Regions from separate parts of the Homo sapiens genome. Here all the other regions are linked to region 1. The links are contacts of gene promoters, found by promoter capture Hi-C in blood cells and fetal thymus (Javierre and others, 2016). All regions are on one chromosome and are shown on one strand. Each heading gives the region's core, a stretch centred on a gene start or on the middle of the fragment in contact. The rest is flanking DNA. Distances are from core to core; before and after follow the strand shown. Region 1 holds the start of LINC01888 (long intergenic non-protein coding RNA 1888). Region 2 overlaps APLF (aprataxin and PNKP like factor). Region 3 overlaps PLEK (pleckstrin). Region 4 has its middle 47 kb from the start of PLEK. Region 5 holds the start of PLEK (pleckstrin). Region 6 has its middle 37 kb from the start of FBXO48. Region 7 has its middle 14 kb from the start of FBXO48.

The links. The method cuts DNA at HindIII sites, captures the fragments that hold promoters and counts their contacts. A CHiCAGO score of 5 or more calls a contact.
Region 2: a contact is called between a fragment that was not itself captured here and the fragment with the promoter of LINC01888 in region 1, in 16 of 17 cell types (activated CD4 T cells, naive CD4 T cells, total CD4 T cells and 13 more). The highest score is 17.5, in activated CD4 T cells.
Region 3: a contact is called between a fragment that was not itself captured here and the fragment with the promoter of LINC01888 in region 1, in 3 of 17 cell types (monocytes, naive B cells and naive CD8 T cells). The highest score is 9.2, in monocytes.
Region 4: a contact is called between a fragment that was not itself captured here and the fragment with the promoter of LINC01888 in region 1, in 1 of 17 cell types (monocytes). The highest score is 5.5, in monocytes.
Region 5: the fragment with the promoter of PLEK here is called in contact with the fragment with the promoter of LINC01888 in region 1 in 1 of 17 cell types (neutrophils); the score reaches 6.2 in neutrophils.
Region 6: a contact is called between a fragment that was not itself captured here and the fragment with the promoter of LINC01888 in region 1, in 4 of 17 cell types (total CD4 T cells, M2 macrophages, naive CD4 T cells and 1 more). The highest score is 5.7, in total CD4 T cells.
Region 7: a contact is called between a fragment that was not itself captured here and the fragment with the promoter of LINC01888 in region 1, in 16 of 17 cell types (naive CD8 T cells, total CD4 T cells, naive CD4 T cells and 13 more). The highest score is 18.6, in naive CD8 T cells.

The regions. Positions count from the first base shown.
Region 1 is chr2:68,830,509-68,833,263 of GRCh38, reverse strand. It overlaps LINC01888 (long intergenic non-protein coding RNA 1888), which reads right to left and starts at 1,256. Exons shown (of 2, transcript NR_183895.1): 1 at 1,112-1,256. It overlaps LINC01890 (long intergenic non-protein coding RNA 1890), which reads left to right. Exons shown (of 4, transcript NR_183884.1): 2 at 214-432; 3 at 1,759-1,904. The HindIII fragment of the contact is 9,437 bases long and covers 132-2,755 here.
Region 2 is chr2:68,469,835-68,472,588 of GRCh38, reverse strand. The region is part of intron 1 of APLF (aprataxin and PNKP like factor); the gene reads right to left. Among named protein-coding and RNA genes, the nearest start is that of APLF, 3.6 kb to the right of the region's middle. The HindIII fragment of the contact is 2,738 bases long and covers 1-2,704 here.
Region 3 is chr2:68,389,420-68,392,316 of GRCh38, reverse strand. The region is part of intron 6 of PLEK (pleckstrin); the gene reads right to left. Among named protein-coding and RNA genes, the nearest start is that of PLEK, 26 kb to the right of the region's middle. The HindIII fragment of the contact is 1,194 bases long and covers 684-1,877 here.
Region 4 is chr2:68,411,236-68,414,128 of GRCh38, reverse strand. No RefSeq gene overlaps it. Among named protein-coding and RNA genes, the nearest start is that of PLEK, 47 kb to the right of the region's middle. The HindIII fragment of the contact is 2,729 bases long and covers 30-2,758 here.
Region 5 is chr2:68,363,751-68,366,592 of GRCh38, reverse strand. PLEK (pleckstrin) reads right to left here and starts at 1,311. Exons shown (of 9, transcript NM_002664.3): 1 at 1,200-1,311. The coding sequence starts at 1,241. It overlaps LOC101927723 (a long non-coding RNA gene), which reads left to right and starts at 189. Exons shown (of 2, transcript NR_187652.1): 1 at 189-1,178. RefSeq lists an enhancer at 1,272-1,351. The HindIII fragment of the contact is 25,233 bases long and covers 1-2,842 here.
Region 6 is chr2:68,428,356-68,431,358 of GRCh38, reverse strand. No RefSeq gene overlaps it. Among named protein-coding and RNA genes, the nearest start is that of FBXO48, 37 kb to the left of the region's middle. The HindIII fragment of the contact is 1,753 bases long and covers 689-2,441 here.
Region 7 is chr2:68,451,603-68,454,407 of GRCh38, reverse strand. No RefSeq gene overlaps it. Among named protein-coding and RNA genes, the nearest start is that of FBXO48, 14 kb to the left of the region's middle. The HindIII fragment of the contact is 539 bases long and covers 1,068-1,606 here.

The DNA.
Region 1 (2,755 bases), core at 7-2,506:
AGTCAAGCATAACTCTTTTAAAATGCCATTAACTATAGGAGGAAGAATCAGTGTTGTAACATTTTGCTATTCCTTGAGTACAATCTATGTGTACTAAGAAAAGACATCATTGGTAACACAACTACCAAGCTTATCTAGGGATCAGCTATCTCAAGATAGGCATAGCAATTGCTGGATGCCATATGATTTCCATGTATTTTATTTCTCCAATAGCACTCACATTCTTTGGGAGCTGTATTCTAATACTTTCAGAAAAGCCATGGGAACACACCAGAGTGACTGCTCGAGTAAATAAGTAGCATAAACAGCAAGCCAAACCATTGATGTACACATCACTGGGCCCAATACTATGAAATCCCACATAAGAAACTTGAAAGTGAAAGCTGGAATTCTGAGGATACTGGTTTTGCTTAATAAACAGCATTTCAACAGGTGAGTCAACTTAGTATTGCAGAGCGTGGTGTTGGCTTTTTTCTGATTGGGGCTAGTTTTTCATTAAAGGCAATATCTAGCACTGAAATAGACAACAGTACCTAGTCCCAACCACCTGCTTCCTGGTGAGTCAGTTCAAGTTCTCACAATTGTGTCTGTGTCCAGCCCCAGACCAGCTGAGCTGGGTCATGTGCTCACCCAGATCTTTCCCTAAAAGAGGACTGACAGGGAAACCACTGCCCTCTTTCACATCCAGGGAAGGAGTGACTTCTAAGAGAAATAGGGTTTTGTTTCCTCGCCAAAGTGTCAGGAATGATCAAATGTGAAAAACAGAGGGCAAATCCGTGTTAGTGCGTCATTAGGTGGGTGTTTCTAAAGTGATCACATGGTAACACTTCCTCTGCTCGCTGACCCACCAGGAGTGTTTTGGAAACAGTCAGCCCACGTGAAATGGGCTGAAGACATCCCAGTGTCCTCCTCTCAGAAGCTGTGAGCCCCAGTCAGGGCGGGCTGTCTTAGCCTGTAAACGTCCACAGGGCCAGAGCCTATATTTAACTGATGACACATCTTACAAGGGGGAAGGGAAGGGGAATCTGTGACCCTGTTTCCTCCCACCAACACCAGCCCATTCACACAGAGTCTTTTGAAGGTCTCACTGGCAGTACTCCTTCAAACTTACCCAATATGCCCCACTCAAAGGCCCTCCCAGGCTTGTGGGAACAGAAAGATTTCTTGAAATGGAAAGGAGGGTTGTGAATGAGTGAGGAAATTCAGCATGGAGATATGAGAGGCTCACTCTTTAGCCACACGGAACCGGGGACTCCAAGGCAACCCCATTCCCAGAGTTCTTTCGAGGGTGGGGCTAATGACATGGGACCAAGAATTGACTCCAGGAAAGGGCATGGTGATGTGTGGCCTCCCAGACAGCCTCAGAGCAAGCAGGTGGATTTGACTTAGGCTGTGGGGAAGGCAACAGCCTCTGTATATTTTTCCATCTTGATGCTGAGTCAGACAAGGCAGTTAGTGGTTCTTTCCAGAATCCCTGCCAGCCTTTTAAAGAAAAAGTCTTTGCAGATTTTGCTTTAGTCCATCTCTGCCAAGGGGTCATTTTCTATGTTGTACTTCCTCCCTATGTGAGGGCAAGGATAATGTAGCCTTGTGTAGACTGTATATACGCTTCAGTTCCTAGCTAAGCCACATTGAGACCTCAGTAAAACAGGTTTGATTGCAATCAGAAAAGAGTTGATTTGAGATTTAAAGGAAATGACATGGATACAGTGCTCACCAGAAAGTATTAAAATGGTATTTGTTGCTTATTATTGGTAGTTATTGTCATGATATTGCTACTGATGCTGAACAAAGACCCAAGAACCAGGGTGATGTTTAGCATGGGCTGGCCTCAGCAGGACTGAAAGGACATCAATAAGGGAGAACAGAGAGAAGGAAGGAGGACAAGTGCCAACTTTGAGCAGGTATCAGGTGTATGTGGGGGCAAACCATTTCTCCGTCCACCCTGATGATGAGTCCCCGTTTCCCTTTTTAAGGCCTGATTTTTGCACCCTCACCCCACCTAAGGCAGCCAGGGGCCCACACTGCAATACTCCTAGGTAACATCCATACTTTTTTTTTTTTTTTGAGATAGAGTCTCCCACTGTCACCCAGGTTGGAGTGCAATGGCGAGATCTCGGCTCACTGCAACCTCCGCCTCTCAGGTTCACGTGATTCTCCTGCCTCAGCCTCCAGAGTAGCTGGGATTACAGGCGCACACCACCATACCCGGCTAATTTTTTGTATTTTTGGTAGAGACAGGGTTTCACTATGTTGGCCAGACTGGCGTCGAACTCCTGACCTCGTGATCTGCCCGCCTCGGCCTCCCAAAGTGCTGGGATTACAGGCGTGAGCCACTGTGCCTGGCCAACATCCATACTCTTGATCTGTTCCTCCACCCACAGCACTGCTTATCTGGCCAGGCTCTCGTTCCTTCATTACACAGCTTTCTGCTGGGAAGCAGATAACTAATATAAAGATGATACTAACGATTAATGGAGGCTTCATGGAGTCTCCCAGAAATATCACGTTTGTGGTTAATATTCCAAAGGCTACTGGTAGGGATTTCTCAATCTAACATGAGTCTGAAAAAGAGATGATTTTCATCAGAGCTATTCTCGGGACTCTTTAAATCAGGCCCTCAAGTGCTTATCTTCTTTGCCTATGTTTAGAGTCAATCCTTAAAGCAAGTAAACAGTGTCCCCATATATTTAGGAATTCTCAAAATCCTTGGATTTGTTCATACTAAGCTACTGTTATACTCATTTTTTAAAAA
Region 2 (2,754 bases), core at 86-2,585, 360 kb after region 1:
CCTTCTTATACCTCTCTGTACCCTGTGACATCATTCTGTCTAGCTTGAGGACTAAGCTCTGATTATTATTTTTTTTTATCTTGCCCAAATTCCTTTCTAAGGGGTCTGGGGAGTCATGCCCTACAAACCATAAATTCTCATCAGATGAGTTTTATTTAACCCTGTATAACGTGACTTACTTTCCAGTCTGACTCAGGCATAACAAGGAAGAAAATCAAAATGTTTTACCCTAAAATATATTTCTTTGCCATACCTTGGAACTGTCCTGCAAAGTCTCTTGTGGGAAAAACCCACATTCTATAGAGAATTCCCTTTCCCCTTTGTTTTCCTTCCTTCCTTTCCAGATCCAGGAGATAATCAATTAAGAGCCAGGCACTCTTTCAGGTCTCATAAGAAACATTTTACAACCTGCTATCTCTGAAGTCCGCTATCTGAGAGCTCTGCAAAATAAAACTTCGTCTCCACAATCCTTTATCTTAACCTGAACATTTCCTTTGATCTTAGGTCTTGAGATAAACTCAACTAATTGTCAACCAGAAAATGTTTAAATTTACCTATAGCCTGGAAGCCCCTGCTTTGGGTTGTCCTGCCTTTCTGAACCAAACCAATGTATTTCTTAAATGTATTTGATTGATGTCTCATGCCTCCCTAAAATATATAAAAACCAAGCTGTACCCTGACCATCTTGGGAACATGCTCTCAGGACCTCCTGAGGGCTGTGTCACGGGCCATGGTCACTCATATTTGGCTCAGAATAAATCTCTTGAAATATTTTATAGAATTTAACTCTTCATCAACAGACTCATGGTATTTAACCAAAACTTTTAATAAAAATGTGACCTTTTAAAAATCAGTGATTATATCTAAAAATTCAAATTTCTTACTATTCTTAAAAAAACAATATGACACTGTTACCAACTGGGAATAGGGGAAAGTAGCAGGGATTGCATAGAGACCCTCTCCTTGTGGCCTTCCCAACACTGAGGCAGAACTGTTGTCATTTATCACTGTCCCTGTGTTGTTTTTCTTCTTCCCTCCCACTTCGCTTACTCCAAGTGTCAGCCTGGCGCCAGTCCCCATGTGAGGTTGTAGCCTTATTTAGTTACTAATACTTGTTTATTTGTCTCTTAACCCTACAAAACTATAAGTTTCTTGAGAGCAAAGACTTGTTTCTCATTCACCTTTATTTCTCCTATACTCCCTCCCATCCAACCATAGTATATATTTATCAGCTATTTCCTGAATTTAGCGAATTATCAATCAACAAAACAGGAAAAATGTTAAAACTTAATTCATTATGAATGCTACTCAAGATTTAGCAGTTGGTAGGACTGCATCTTTACTATATTTAAATTCACTTCAAAACTCAATGATAACCCTTTTTCATATCTAAGTCACAATTAGGCTCTTTTTGAGGGTAGAGTGAATGAGAGGCTGAGATGCCGAAATGGAAGGAAGAAATCACGTGTTAAAGGCCTACTGTGTGCTAGGCACTGGTTGTAGGCTAAATAATAAAATGAGGGAAGGGCAAATCTAGAAATAAAAGAAACGTAAGGGAAGAAACCTATGTTGGAGCAGGTAGGAACAGCATTCCAGGACAGCCAGGATTCTGCAACAAGCAGTTAAAAGTATAGAGCTGCCAGGTCAGGGGATGGTTACTTTGTGTAAACTTTGTAGAACATTTACAACATTCTTAGAAGTGGTGAACTGATGCCACCTGAAGAGTCTATACTGAAGCCTATGACCTTCCCTGTTCCCCCAACTGAGGACTCTTCTCCTTTTAATCAAAGCAGTCAATTTAATTACATCTACATTGAGAAAGTATCACTAGATATCTTTTGCTATCTTGTTTCCTAGGAGGAAAATAGATCATAAAGAAATGTGTCATATAATCCCTGCTGTCAAAACAAAATAAGAAAAATCTGAAATCAGAAATAGTAGATTTCATTTAAGAGTGTAACAGCTTTAATTAAAACCCATAAAGCAAATACTTTGGCCTAACAGTGCTTGACATGTCGTACTGTAAAACCCTTTTAAATTAAATTTCTTAAGATAATGGTAGATTCACATGTAGTTGAAAGATATAATATAGAAATATCTCTTGTACCATTTATCCAGTTTCCCCTAATGGTAACGTCTTACAAAACTATAGTACAATATATCAACCTAAGATATTGATACTGACACAGTCCAGACAAAGCACATTTCTATCACCACAAATATCCCTCATGTTGCTATTTTATAGCCATATCCATTCCCTTCTGCCCTGCTGCCTAATTTTTTAACCTTTGGCAACCACTAATCTGTTCTCCATTTTTGAAATTTTGCAATTTCGCAATTTCAATGATGTTATATAAATGGAATCACACAATATGTAATCTTTTGGATTGGCTGTTTTAACTCAAGTTCTCTGAAGATTAATCCTGCTGTAAAACCTTCTAACTGATGCCAATCATGGAGCAGAATCAAAATCTAGTAAACAAAGACCTGGGGTTCTCTGATGACTCACATGAAAGCAAAGGGAACAAGAAAGATTAAATTTCATTGTCCTTTGTTCTCTGTGACAGGTTTCTCTGTTGTGTTTTCCTACCACCATAAAAATACAAAACCATTCTCATTGTCAAACTGTTTTACTACCAAGACTATTTTACACAGTCAGATTATAAACTTTTATGTTTGTGTGGCCATCAAGGTTTGTGAAGCTTGTCTCAGAAAAACATGCCCAATTAAGAAAGTTCAAAATCATCCTTATTT
Region 3 (2,897 bases), core at 31-2,530, 440 kb after region 1:
AATAATCCAGGCATAAAATCATTAGGAACTAAACCTTAGGTAGCTGCAGTAGGAATGGAAATGCCTGTTGCTGTAACAGACATGATGAAGGAAGAAGAAGAGGCGGAAGAGGAGGAGGAGGAGAAAGAAGAAGAAGAAGAAGGAGGAGGAGGAGAAAAGGGGGAGGAAGGTAGGAGGAAGGAAAGAGGAAGGAAGAAAGAAAGAAGAAGAAGAAAGAAGGTGACGACTTGGCCTTTCCCAACAGAATTAAACACTGACATTGTCTAGACTGAGTTTTAAGGGCAGGATTTGTGTCTTGCTTATCTTTGTTTCCCAGGGCCACAGTGCCTGGCATATAGCAGCTGCTTCATATCTGTTTGTACTTGCTGTGAGTTACCAAGTTATTTCCATTAGTGTGTAGCAGATTTTAAACTGTCATGGTAAACCTGACTCTATGATTTCCCACAGGAAATTCAAATGACTTAACTCCAGAAGCCAAAAATAGTATTATATTAAAAGATACGGAGTTTCTATCTTGCCAATACAAGAAATATTATTTGTAATTTCTAAAGCACCACATATTGGCAAGCATGTATACAAATTTTCCAACATTTTTCATTTTACTTGTGCTGAAAGCAATAAAACATGTGTGGTCTTAGCAAACAGTGCCTCCTTCATAAATCCAGAGGTGCTTCAAGGAAGCTTTCAGAAATGGGCCTAAGTTTTTTGGCAAAACATTTGGTGAAGGAACTCACTTCCAAAGAACTTTCTACTTCCTGAAGGATGGAGCTGGAACCCCTGCAGAGTCATATGCAAGGACAGAAAATATTCCTACCTGCTATATCATGTCCAAAATGGCTTTTGCAAAGCATAGACTTCCAAAAGTATACATTGCTGCTCTTTGCCTTAACTAATGTTGCCCTTCAGAATAACGACACTAAAGTTGCCACCCCATACCATTTCCTCTTCACTGACAGACACACATGTCATGCTGTATTATGCAATTGCTGGACAATCACCAACTTATTATGAGCCAATGGAAGAGGAAGGTAACAGGAGGATGTGAAATCAGCCAACCACCATATTCCCTTTAAGCCCTCACTGACATCACAATGTGACGTGTTGAAGAGTTGGAAGTTAGCAGGTACATTTCTGGTCATCTTTCACTTAATGAGCATTTTCTAAGGAGTATTAAGAAATGCATGTATGCCTCAGGTTTCCAAGAATTGTTACTGAACTGTCAAAGCCATCTACTTATATTTGACTTAATTAGCTCCCCAAGTGTTCATTGCCTATGATAAATCAAGAAGGATGCTGAACTCTGCAGCAGATACAAGAGAAGCATATATAACACATTGTTCCTCTCCCTCAAGGAATCTAAATGTGGTTGAGAATTAAACAAGCAGATGCTTTATTCATTGTCATAACAGAAACAATTATGTAAAAAGGGATTATACTGAATATAATCTAAGATCATTCATCCTCAAACTTGCTGCCAAGTAGGATTATTTATCCTGGGATGAGAAAATAATGGGGCAGGGATAATGGCCTCCAGTTAGCCACAGCTACTTCCCATCTGTGAGGCTTCCCATTATAACAAGCCTTCTATGAAGTTAATCCTGGCTAACTCCCAGCAGTAAACACAAGGGAGGCTTACTTTTGGAATTTTAAGAAAAAGTTTTTAAAATTCTGAAAATCCCTTGGGTGATTTTGATGTAAACTATGGTTACTAACCACTGAGCTAAGAGATTAGAAACATTAAGGGGAAGTGTCAATTCAAATCGAAGAGGTTTTTGCTCCCCAACCTCTGAAAAAAAATTCAGAGGAAAGAATATTGTAAAAGAACAAAATTCCTGAATGCACGTAGATTTCTGTTTTCTTCACATAAAAAGGAAGCTTCTAAGAAAGACTATTTAACTTGTATACTGATAATAGAATAAATTAGCTTTTAAGAAAAAGGCTGGCTCAGTGGTTCTCAGCTTTGGCTGCACATCAGAATCACTTGGGAGCTGTAAAAATCCAGAGGCTCTGATTAAATTGGCCTGGCATGCAGTTTTAACAGTTCCCTGGGAGATCCAAATGTGCACCAACCGAGCTAGCTAAGGCTAAATTGTACCTATCAAAGGCCAGACAAAGGAAGGCAAAGGAAAACACATAAGTTCAATCCTTGTCCCTATTGTCTTCAAAATACATCCAGACACTCATTACCCACACACAATTTTTGACCATCCCAGGTCTCCTACTGGGCTGCTTCACTGAGACGTGGCTCCAGTCCAGTCCCAACTTTATCTACTGTTAGCCTTCATCCTTGGCTTTCCAAGAGCCCCATTCTAGATTAGGGTTTGCCCAATCAACTAATTCAAGAAATAACTGATAACAATATAGAATTATGGAAGAAATCAACAAAATAAAGAAATTTCCTCCCAAGTTACTCTTCTTGTCTTAACAGCCACATTCCAGCACCTGCAATCAAAGAGCCAGGAACATAGGAATATTTGGCAAAACCAACGAGAAAGCAGCAGCGGGCAAACTGTCCGTAGGCAACTGCCCGAGCCTTCCCGGCATAAGGCTGGCTCTGCCCCATGCCTTTCTTTTAATCTAGCCAGCTGGTCACCCTGTCATAAAAAAATACTATAATAGTCCATGAATTCTTTATAAATTCTTGCCATATATTTCTTAGGACACTGTTCTCTTAAAACCTGATATGAAGGTAATTTTTCCATTCGAATGTCCCACTTCCCCCTGTGAAACTCAAAATCCATACCTATACCTCCTTTCAGCTATCCCAGCCCAGAGTCCCTCTTTATAAATGTAAATATGGGCTCTTCTCTGGTTCTTCCCTCCTTGCCCATTCCATTAATCACTAAGATGGACATTCAGGGTCCTAACATGAAATAAATCAGATCCCCCAGTCCCGT
Region 4 (2,893 bases), core at 145-2,644, 420 kb after region 1:
ACCCAGGCTGGAGTGCAGTGGCACAAGCTTGGCTCACTGCAGCTTTGACCTCCCAGGCTGAAGAGATCCTCCCACCTCAGCCTTCCAAGCAGCTAGGACCACAGGCTAATGCCACCACAGCCGGCTAATTTTTTGTATTTTTTTTATTTGGGTTTCACCATGTTGCCCAGACTGGTCTCAAACTCCTGAGCTCAGGCGATCTGCCCACCTAGGCCTCCCAAAATGCTGGGATTACAGGTGCGAGCCACCATGCCAGGCCTGATTTTCTATCCAGGCCACTAAAACTTTCTCCATAGCAGCAATAAGGCTGCTTCACTTTCTTACCATTAATGTGCTCACTAAAGTTACACTTTTAATTTCCTCCAGATACTTCTCCTCTGAATTCACAACTTGGCTAACTGTCTGGCACACAAGTCCTAGCTTTCAGCCTGTCTCAGCTGTCAGCACGCCTTCCTCACTAAGAGTAATCATCTCTAGCTTTTGACTTTAAGTGACAGATGTGCGACTCTTCCTTTCACTTGAACACTTAGAGGCCATTGTAGAGTTATTAATTGGCCTAATTTCAATATTGTTGTGTTTCAGAGAATAGTGAGGCCTAAGGAAAGGGAGAGAGATGGGGAAACAGCCAATCAGTGGAGCAGTCAACAGATATTTACTAAGTTTGTGGACTTAGATGGGCATGGTTCATAGTGTCCCAAAACAATAACAATAGTAACCTCAAAGATTACTGATCACAGATCACCATAACAGATATAATAAGCATGAAAAAGTTTGAAATATTGCAGGAATTACCAAAATGTGCCACAGAGACACAAAGTGAGTGCATGCTGTTGGAAAAATGGTGCTGATAGACTTACTCCATGCAGGGTCGCCAGAAACCTATAATTTGTAAAAAAAAAAAAAAAAAAAAAAAAACAAACAAAAAAACAAAAAACAAACAAACAAAAAAGCAATATCTGAGGAGCACAATAAAGCAACATGCAGTAAAACAAGGTATTCCTGTATAAGGAGCCTCCTCATGATAACAGTAATTACTTCATTCCATCAGCTATTGATAATGTACCCACTATGCACAAGCACCATGTTAAGCATCAGAAAGGATTGAAAAAATTATGAAGCACGAATACTTTTCTGACCCCAAAAAACACCAACCCTAAAACATCCAACACGATATGTGACTATTTGTAAATGCCTGGTGCAAATAGATGGTAGAGATATTCTGTGGCAGACGGTCTATCATGGAAGTGGGGAAAAGTACAATGAATAACAGGGAGGGCTAAGCCTTCAAGAAAAAAGAAGAATAAGAGAAACAGAGAGCTGGAGCAGAGAATGTTCTAGGCCATGGGGTTATATAGGCAAGTCAAGGTTGCAAAAGCTGACAATCCTCCAAGGACCAACAAGAGGCCAGTATGTCTGTAGTGAAGGAGAGCAGAGGGGAAATCCTTCTGGAAAGGGAAGTCAGGGCCAGTTTGTGAAGGCCCTTAAATGCTAGGCTATTGCATCAGTGTCTGAACTGTAAGCAGTGGAGAGTCAAGCAATTTATCGGTAGTTTTTAACTTTAATTTTGGTAGAAATTACCGATCATTTTTTTAAAAAGCAGCAGTGCAAGTATATAGACCCTACCGCATGCTTAGGAAATCAGAATTCCTAAAGTTGGGCCTCAGGCATAAGTTCCATGAAAAAAATTCCACAGGCAATTCTGACATAGACCAAAAGTTGAAAGCCACTACTACAGAGTGTAGATTGCCATGAGTACCTTCTACAGCAGAGGGGTCAGAGGAAAGGAAACTAGAACTTGTGGAGTGCCACCCATTTCAGGTGACTTACAGGTATTATTTCATTTAGTCCTAACAACAAGCCTATGAGAAGAATACTATTTTCGTTTTAGAGACAAAGAAACTGATACTCAAGATATGTCACAAATGCAGTAAAACCAGGAATTCAAACTGAGGCTCCAGGCTCCAAGACCACTGCCTTTCCCACTCTACCACTTGACCTCCCATTAACAGCCTTGTGCATTTTCCCCTTGAAACTTACTGCAGCTCAAATTAAATAGCAAATGTGGTGTTAGAAAAACTCTCCTCCCATCCTCTTTTTTCTCCCTCAGTGACAGCTAAATTTTACCTTCCCTTTACCCTGAAACTGAGCCAAAACCACTGAGGGCTATAATTTCACACTAGGTTTATTTTTTTAAAGAAGCTAAATTAACTTCCTCATAACTTTCTTTCTCTTTCTTCTACGCTTTCCTCTATGACATCTCCCAATACACCTTGCAGTTCTGAAATTCCTTATTTAAAGCAGAACCCAAAATGGAATCCAAAATATTAAGTAATTACTTTAGTGATTTTCTTTTTACCCTAAGGCTGATGAGGATTGTCTATATCAGGTTTCACACAACATCCAAAAGAAATGATGATGACCCTCTGTTTAGCTTGCTACAAACAAACACGAAGAGACTAGGGTTTTCTTTGTCTGTTTGTTTTTTAGAGATGAGGTCTCACCATGTTCCACAGGCTGGAGTGCAGTAACTATTCATAGGCATGATGATTGCATACTACAGCCTTGAACTTCTGGTCTCAAGGGATCCTCCTATCTCAGTCTCTCAAGTAGCTGACAAGCATATACCACCTTGCCTGGCTCACTGTTGCTATTTTAACCCAAGGAAGTTCCTCATTCTGCTTTTGGAAACCGTTCTCTACGGGTAGAATTTTAGCCACTGTATGTGTGTATATTTCTGTGTGTATCTACAAGAGAAGCTTAATATCTCTCCTTAAATCAGTAATATATTTTCTTTTTTTTATTATTATACTTTAAGTTCTGGGATACATGTGCAGAACGTGCAGGTTTGTTACATAGGTATACAAGTGATACAAGTGCCACGGTGGTTTGCTGC
Region 5 (2,842 bases), core at 62-2,561, 470 kb after region 1:
AAATCCTAACTTGGAATAAATCTGCTTTAAGAAAATGCTGGAGTAATGAACAAAGTTCAGTGCCATGAATCAGAAACCTAAGCATCAGAGAAGGAGTGGCTGGTCACAACTGTCATAGCCATGTGACTTGGGGCAATCACCGAGCCTTCTGGGTCTGTCTCCTCTTCTGCAAATGAAGGAATTAGGCCAGATGACCTAGGGTCCCTCCAGCCTGAAGTCAAAATGGAAGCAGGCAGCAATGTGTGCTATTTAACCCCCCTTACAGGTAGAACATTGTAGGTTAAAACGTGAAACAAATGAGTAGCCTAAAACAGACTCACATTCACTGTTCATTCAACTAAAAAGCTAAGCACCTGAAGGAAGGCACTACGTTCAGCTCATTTCTGAAACAATCCACTCACTAAGGTTAGTGTGAGCATATCTGTGTATATAGGTGTTGCCCACAGGACACCAAGTCCTATGTGTGAATTCACATCCCGGGGAGCTTTCACAACCACACAGCACACACTCAGCATCCGAAGAAAGACAAACAGCACTAAGAAAATTCAATTTTCATGATGCACACCAGGGAGGCTAAGCCTTTTTCAGTACCCTAATCTTTAAAATGGTGCATCTACCACCTCGATGCCACATTATGCAAATTTACTAAGAATTGTGAGTGAAGAGATTTCAGCCCAATTAAAAAAAGATAAGGTTTTTTTTAAACGTGTCAATTCCAAGAAGATGGCCCAAGAAATAAGCCGTAATTACTCTATCATTATATCAACTCTTTAATCACTTTTTTCCCCTTGCCTCCCAAAAAAAGAACTGAGGGGAAGTGGAATTTAAATAAAAAATGAATAGTCCCTCCAAGAAACCTCCATAGAAGAGGAGTATATCTTCTGACAGAACACATCTGTGTGCCTCTTAAAAAGGATATTCTAAATCTGGAGGGAGTTAGCTTAGATCCCCACCTTCCAGGCCCTGCCATCTGGAATTCTCAGACCCGTAATATCAAACTGTAAGGAAGCCGGGGCTGGATGAGTATCCCCACTCCCCTAACCCCACTCCAACATTCTATGTGCTACCACGCTCCCCTATTTCAACCCAACTGGTTGAACAGGAAACATTCCTAAGATGAGCAGGTAGCCGGTGGAGCTGAACCCAAGTCTCCCCAGCCCATGTCCACTGACACCCTGGTAAGTGGCACCTTCGCTCACCTTCTTCACAAGGTAGCCCTCTCTGATCCGCTTTGGTTCCATGCTGGCTGGACAGGCAGATGCAAAGGTCACTCTCAGGCAACTCCTCTCAGCAGCTGGGCCTCCTCTGCATGCTGAGGTGGCTGTGGGCCGCCTTTTCTACAGCAGGTCGCTTTCACAATTTCCCTTCTGCTGGCGGTCGCATGATCACATCCTCTTCCCCTCACTGGGTTGGAAGATCAGAATAAGGAACTGCAGAGTAAACCACCCATTCCTTGCTAATGCTGGAGACTTATTAAAACCACAGTTGGGTTGAATATTTACCTAAGGGAAATTCTTACTACCATACAGAAAATCCCTCTTTTAAAGAGAAAAAGAAGTGATGAAAGGAAGAGGAAGATGAACAAGAAAAACTTGTTGGTGAAAATTGTCCTGAGTAAGGATTATTCTTGAGATCCTGGAAATGCCCAATAAAAATGCCAAGAAATTCAGAACCATCTGGTTAGCATAACAAAGTTAACTACTAAATGAATGCCTACTTCTCTCTATGCCAAGCCCTGTATCAAGTGTTTCTCAGCCTACTTATTTTAAACTAAATTAGTCTGCACATCGGCCAGGCATGGTAGCTCACGCCTGTACTCCCAGCACTTTGGGAGGCCAAGGCAGATGGATCACCTGGGGTCAGGAGTTCAAGACCAGCCTGGCCAACATGGTGAAACCTTGTCTCTACTAAAAATACAAAAATTAGCCGGGCATGGTGGCGTGTGCCTGTAGTCCCAGCTACTCGGGAGGCTGAGGCAGCAGAATCACTTGAACCTGGGAGGCGGAGGTTGCAGTGAGCCGAGATTGGTCCACTGCACTCCAGCCTGGGCGACAGAGAAAGACTTCATCTCAAAACAAACAACAACAAAAATGAGTCCACACATCAAACCCATAGGGAAAGTATATTATTTTCCTTATCTTAGAGTAAGGAAACTCAGGCTCAGAGAAGAAAAGTTGTCTCAAGTTGACGCTGCAGGTCACAGGGGAAAGCAGAAGAACCAGGGAGGGATGTGCTAGGGTGCCACTGCCTCACATCAGGCATGAGAACAGGTGTTCCACGTTGAGTGCTGATCTCACAGTCAGCCTGTAAAAAGAAGTCCATCATCAAACAGGTTTTTGAGAAACTTTACAAAATAATCCCAGGTTGGCAACTCCTCTAAATGATGAACAAATTAAAGACCTTCGCCCCGCCAAAGTACTACAGTAAAGAATCCTATAATGGTGTTTTCCAAACTTACTTCGCCATAGCATTCTTTTTTGAACAATTTATGTTAACTTTTTTTGTCATAAATTGAATTAGATCTCCCAAAAAAGAAGTCCTAACCCTTAGCACTTCAGAATGCATCCTTATTTGGAAATAGGGTCATTGTAGATATAATTAGTTAAGATGAGGTCATACTGAAACAAGTGGGCCCTTAATCCAATGTGACTGGTGTCCTTATAAGAAAAGGGCACACAGAAAACAGCCATGTGACAACAGAGTGATGCATTTACAAGCCAAGGAACGCCAAGGATGGCCAGCAACCCCCAGAAGCTGGAAGAGGCACGCAACAATTCTCTCCTAGAGTTGCTATAGAGAACATGGTGCTGACGACACCTTGATTTCAGACTTACGGCCTCCA
Region 6 (3,003 bases), core at 316-2,815, 400 kb after region 1:
GGGAGAATCACTTGAGCCCAGGAGTTCAAGACCAGCCTGGACAATATATCGAGAGGCCTGTAATTCCAGATATTTGGGAGGCTGAGATGAGAGAATTGTTTGAACCCAGAAGGTTGAGGCTGCAGTGAGACTTGATCACGCCACTGAATTCCAGACTGGGTAACATTGTAAGACCCTGTCTCAAAAAATATATTAAAAAAGCAAATGGAGAGAATGTGAGGAGAATCATCTGTGAAGGAAACTGGAAGGTCTTTTCCAATTTCTAACCATACAGTGGGCCCTGAGAAAACACCTTTATAGAGAGAGAATGATTAGAACATTCTCTCTAATAATAATGATAGTCACATGAATGTCTGTAAATGTATAGGCAACAGGATAGTATCAATAAGTTGAATATGCCTTTAACAAGCTGAATGTACCTTATTCTTTAGCCTTCTTGAAAATAAAAGCCTAACCTAGTCATCTACCTGCATGGGGAGAATAGGGTGGAATTAGAAGTGCAGATAGGTTGTAATTAGAGGCTTTTAGTGGCTGACAATCACTGAGCATCTGTTGAAAGATAAGTGAATAGTAAAATTAGAAAATTACAGCCTCCATCAAGGAATGCAGCCCTCCCAACATCTCGAGACCCATTTCAGACTTATAACCTCCAGAGCTGTGAGATAATAAATTTGTGTTGTTTTAAGCTTCTAAATTTGTGGTTACTTGTTACAACAATAGGAAACTCATACAATAATTTTTATAGAAAGAATATACAATTAAATGCAAAAAGTACACTCATCTTAAGTGTACAGCTTGAAGAGTTGTCTTCCACATATTAATTGAGTGTAGCTAATTCATAGACCAAGTCATAGCACATCCCAGCAGCAGCCTATGATTCCCTCCTGCAACTGCCCAATTTGTACACTGCACCCCTAAAAGGAAAGAAAAATTCATACATTCAAAATACTTCTCACACCAAATGTGTGGAGTTTACCTCACATTAAGCAATTCTCCAACTCTCCAGATACCAAGTGGGTGTACTACAATTTACTCATGACACTAACTACCCAGAGTTAGTGCAGACCCCATAGGTTGAGGACTCAGCCTCGCAAGGCTGAAACCAAATTTAGACACCAGTCAGTAGTCCCAAACTGTGACCTGTCCATCTGGCTAACTAGCTATCCATTGGGGGTTGCCATGACCTTCTCTTTAGGTTTGATAATTTGCTAGAATGGCTCACAGGACTCAAGAAAGTGCTTTACTTACAATTAGCAGTTTATTTTAAAGGATACCACTTAAGATCAGCCAGATGAAGAGATACACAGGACAAAGTATGAGGGTGGAGCTGAGAGGTTCCGTCCTGCTCCACATGCTGCACCCTCCCAGCAGGTCTGTGTTTCCACCAACCTGAAGTCCTCCAAGTCCTGTCAGTTAGGGGGTTTATGGAGTTTCTATTCGGTAGGCATGATTGACTAATTAGTGGTCCCCAACCTTTTTGGCACCAGGGACCAGTTTCATGGAAGACAATTTTTCCACAGATGGGGGGTGTGGTTTCAGGACGATTCAAGCACATTACATTTATCATTCAATTCTCATAAGGATGACGCAACCTAGATCCCTTGCATACTCGGTTCACAATAGGATTCACACTCCTACGAGAATCTAATGCTGCTGCTGATCTGACAGGAGGCGGAGCTCAGGCGGGAATCCTTGCTCACCCACTGCTCGCCTCCTGCTTTGCAGTCCAGTTCCTAACAGGCCATAGACTGGTACTGGTCCACAGCCTGGGGGTTGGGGAACCCTGGACTAAATCATGGGCCATTGGTGACTGAGCTCAATCTCCAGCCCTTCTCCCCTCTCCAGAGGTTGGGGGAGGGAGGGAGTGCTGAAAGTTCCAACCCTGTAATCAACCATGTGATTCCTCTGATAACCACCAGCCTCCAAGAGTCACTTCATGAAAACAAACTCACATATGATGAAATAATATACAATAATTAATATAGATAACAAAAGACATTCCTCTTGCCTTTATCATCCAGGATTTTACAAGTGTTTAGGAGCTATGTGCCAGGAAATGGGGATGAAGACCTAATATATGTTTCTTATATTCTTAATGTATCACAATACCACAGCCTCCAAAAGTAATCTCTATTCTGACTTTTATAAATGTTGATTAATATTGCCTGAATTTAAACTTCACATAATTAAAATCATATAATTAATTCCTGCAAGATAGTGATTTAAAATAAGTCAGAAGTACTTTTTATTCCTGGCAATCTTTCTTACTCCCTTAGCCCCTTCAGAGAATAGTGAAGAACTCAGCTGCAAAAAAATTGATGTCAACTTTAGAGATAATAGTTATGAAAGCCAATGTTTTTCTTATCAAGTGCCAGGTTTTATTGCGAGAAGAAAGGAATTTTGAGTTTAGTTGAGCCAGAGCTAGAGGAGTATACCAAGCTTGTCTGACCCATGGCCTGTGGGCTGTATATGACCCAGGATTGCTTTGAATGTGACCCAACACAAATTCATAAGCTTTCTTAGAACACTGAGAGTTTTTTGTGATTTTTTTTTAGCTCATCAGCTATTGTTAGTGTTCTTGTATTTTATGTGTGGTCCAGGACAATTCTTGATCTTCCATTATGGCCCAGGGAAGCCAAAAGATTGGATATCCCTGGAATTTAGCATAGAATTCGTTTTAAAAGTTAACTAGACTTCCTGTCTCTGAACTTACAGTTTTTTCCTTAAAGGCCCCTGAACAACTGCACAGGCCATTCATCACTGTGTATGAGTCCATACACATATTATCACCAGGTGTCCCACTCAAATTCTGTCTGTAGGAAAGACTGCCCTTTGCTTTCAAGGCCAACCCTGGTGTCAGATTTGCATTGCAGTCCGAAGGATTTTCCTGCCCAAATTCTGCTTCCTTCCTTTTTTATCTCTCATGGGATTACTCCTTCCCCTTCTCATCAAACCTCCTCCACTTACTTCTGTCTCAGCTGCTTTCCAGAGAAACCAGCTGAC
Region 7 (2,805 bases), core at 88-2,587, 380 kb after region 1:
CCTCAAGTGCCTCTATCATTTTGTTGTGCCAACTGAAGAATCACGAGGTTCATGAATGTGGAAAGGAGAGCTTTATTTCTTATAAAGGGTTGCAGCCTGCAGGCTGGCCATCCCACAGCCTGGGAAGGGTAGCTTCTGGCAGAAACCAGAAGCAGGTACTTCTAGGGAGGGAAGGGTAAGACAGGAATTTAGGCTGAAAGGGTCAGCTAAGTATATACATTTAACAGGCTATAGGAGGAGCTATGAATATTCACAAAAGGGGAGTGCACTCATGCACAGCAAGCTAACATGTATGTTACCTACATCCTATGTTCACTTTAGGATGGAAACTTAACATTTAAATGTATTAAAATTAGGCTCTATACGTCAAAAGCTGAAACAGAGGACACAGAAGCATCCTGTGTGCAGCTTCTGTAAACCGGCCAGAACCAGTCCATGGTTAGTGGCCTCTTATCAGGAAGGAATGATGGTCAGTTGTTGTGTCAAACTGCAAAAAGGAAGAAGAGTCCAGCAAGTCTTCAGAAAGGGCCTGTTTCTGTTTAACACTTAGGAGTGGAAGTATAATGGCAAGTAGCAAGGGAGGGAGTATAACAGGGCATGTCTGACCTCCCAATCCATCATGGCTGGGAATTCAGCTTTTAAGATTTCTCTAGGATCTCCTTAGCCAAGAGGGGAGTCCTTTTAGTCAGTTGCAGGGGGGACCTTTGGATTTTATTTTCGTTTCTCAGTTGAAAGCCTAGCAGTTAAGACTTCTGAGTCTTCTATGCTTGAAAAAAGTCTTTTGAAATTCAAAGCTGAGTTCTGACTTCTTTATTCTCGGCTGTACCTACCAGACCCACAAAGCACTGGATGCCTGTCTTTCCAGGCAGAGAGCTGCAGAGAAATAAGAATTACTGGGCATGGAAAATACAGCGGAATGTATTACAAAAAAAAAACAACCCATTCTAGTATTACTCTACACAATAAAATAATGCTGGAAAAGGAAGAAAGAGTAAAAACTATAAAGAACAGCTGAGACAGAAGAAGGTAATAAACAAGGCATGCGGGTTGGGTTTCTAATAAAAGCTTGACATCCTTATATTGAGTTCTACCACAAGTAAAACTGACTTTTTTCATGAACCTGTTTGCATTTTCCAATACCTCCTTGTCCTTACCCAGTCAGGGCCGGATGGAAATAAAAAAAGATAAAACTGCAGTTTTACAAGTACCACACCAATCATACTGTATTATCATAAACATTAACTGCTCAAGAAAAAATTTTTCTTAATTAATTAATTTAGTTATTTATTTTTAGAGACTGGGTCTCACTATGTTGCCCAGGCTGGCCTCGAACTCCTGAGCTCAAGCAATCCTCTCCCCTCAACCTCCCAAAGTGCTGGAATTACAAGCATGAACCACTGTTCTGGCCCAAAAGAAATTTTTAATAATCATTTTCTGAGGCCTACTTTTCTGCTATGGGTCTTCTGTGCCTTGTAGGGGAAAAAAACCCAGCTGCTGGTTTCCCAGTTTGCTCATTTTGATTTACTTTTAATATGACAAAATTATACAGTCCATTTGTCACACAATGAAATCCTGATAGAAAATATGTAAAACCATAAAAGAAGCTTTCTAAAAATCACACGTGAGAATCTCCCCCACTTATTGCTGTGGTTGTGTTTTTTTGTTGCCTAACAAGTAGATTGAGCACAATTTCCTGTCTTTATTCTCATTGGTTAGTGAAGAAAATAAAAAGGACTGCTTTTGCCATTGTTTTCCTGTGTATGGCCTACTTTTTTCATCAGTTCAACTTTTTTTTTTCTCTCTCAGACTTTTATTATATATTTTTAAACGTGCTTTCTCCCTAAATGTTTTATTTTGAAAGTTTTCACTCTTACAAAAAATTTCAAAGTCTAGAATATGGCATCATCACCTAGATTAACCAATTGTTAACTTTAACCATGTGTGCTTTATCTCTGTCTATACCAGGTCCCTAAACTTTATCACTATTAACATTCTGGGCTGGATAATTCTTTGTTTGGGGGAGGGGCAGGGGTGCTGTCGTATACACTGTAGAATGTTTAGCAGCACCGCTGGCCTCTATTCATTAGATGCCAGTAGCACCACTTCCCAAGTGCTGGCAACCAAAAATGTCGCCAGACATTGCCAAATGTCTCCTGGGGGAAAATCCCTCTTGTTAGGAACTACTGGTTTATACTACATTTTAAAAAAACACCTAAATGTCCATCAACCAAGAAGAGTGGATAAAGAATAGATATCTATAATATGTATATTTATATATAATATATATTATATATTTTATATATAATATATATAATTTATATATAATATATAATATATATTTTATATATTATATATTATATATATTATATATAAAATATATATTTAATATAATATATAATATAATATATATATATTTTATATAATATATAATATATATATTTTATATAATATATAATATATAATATATAAAATATATATTTAATATAATATATAATATATTATATATAATATGTAATATATAATATATAATATATTATATATAATATGTAATATATAATGTATATTATATATTATAATATATAATATATATTATATAATATACATTATATATAATATATATTATATATAATATACATTATATATAATATACATAATATACATTATATATAATATACATAATATACATTTTATATATAATATATATAATATACATTTTATATATAATATATATAATATACATTTTATATATAATATATATAATATACATTTTATATATAATATATATAATATACATTTTATATATAA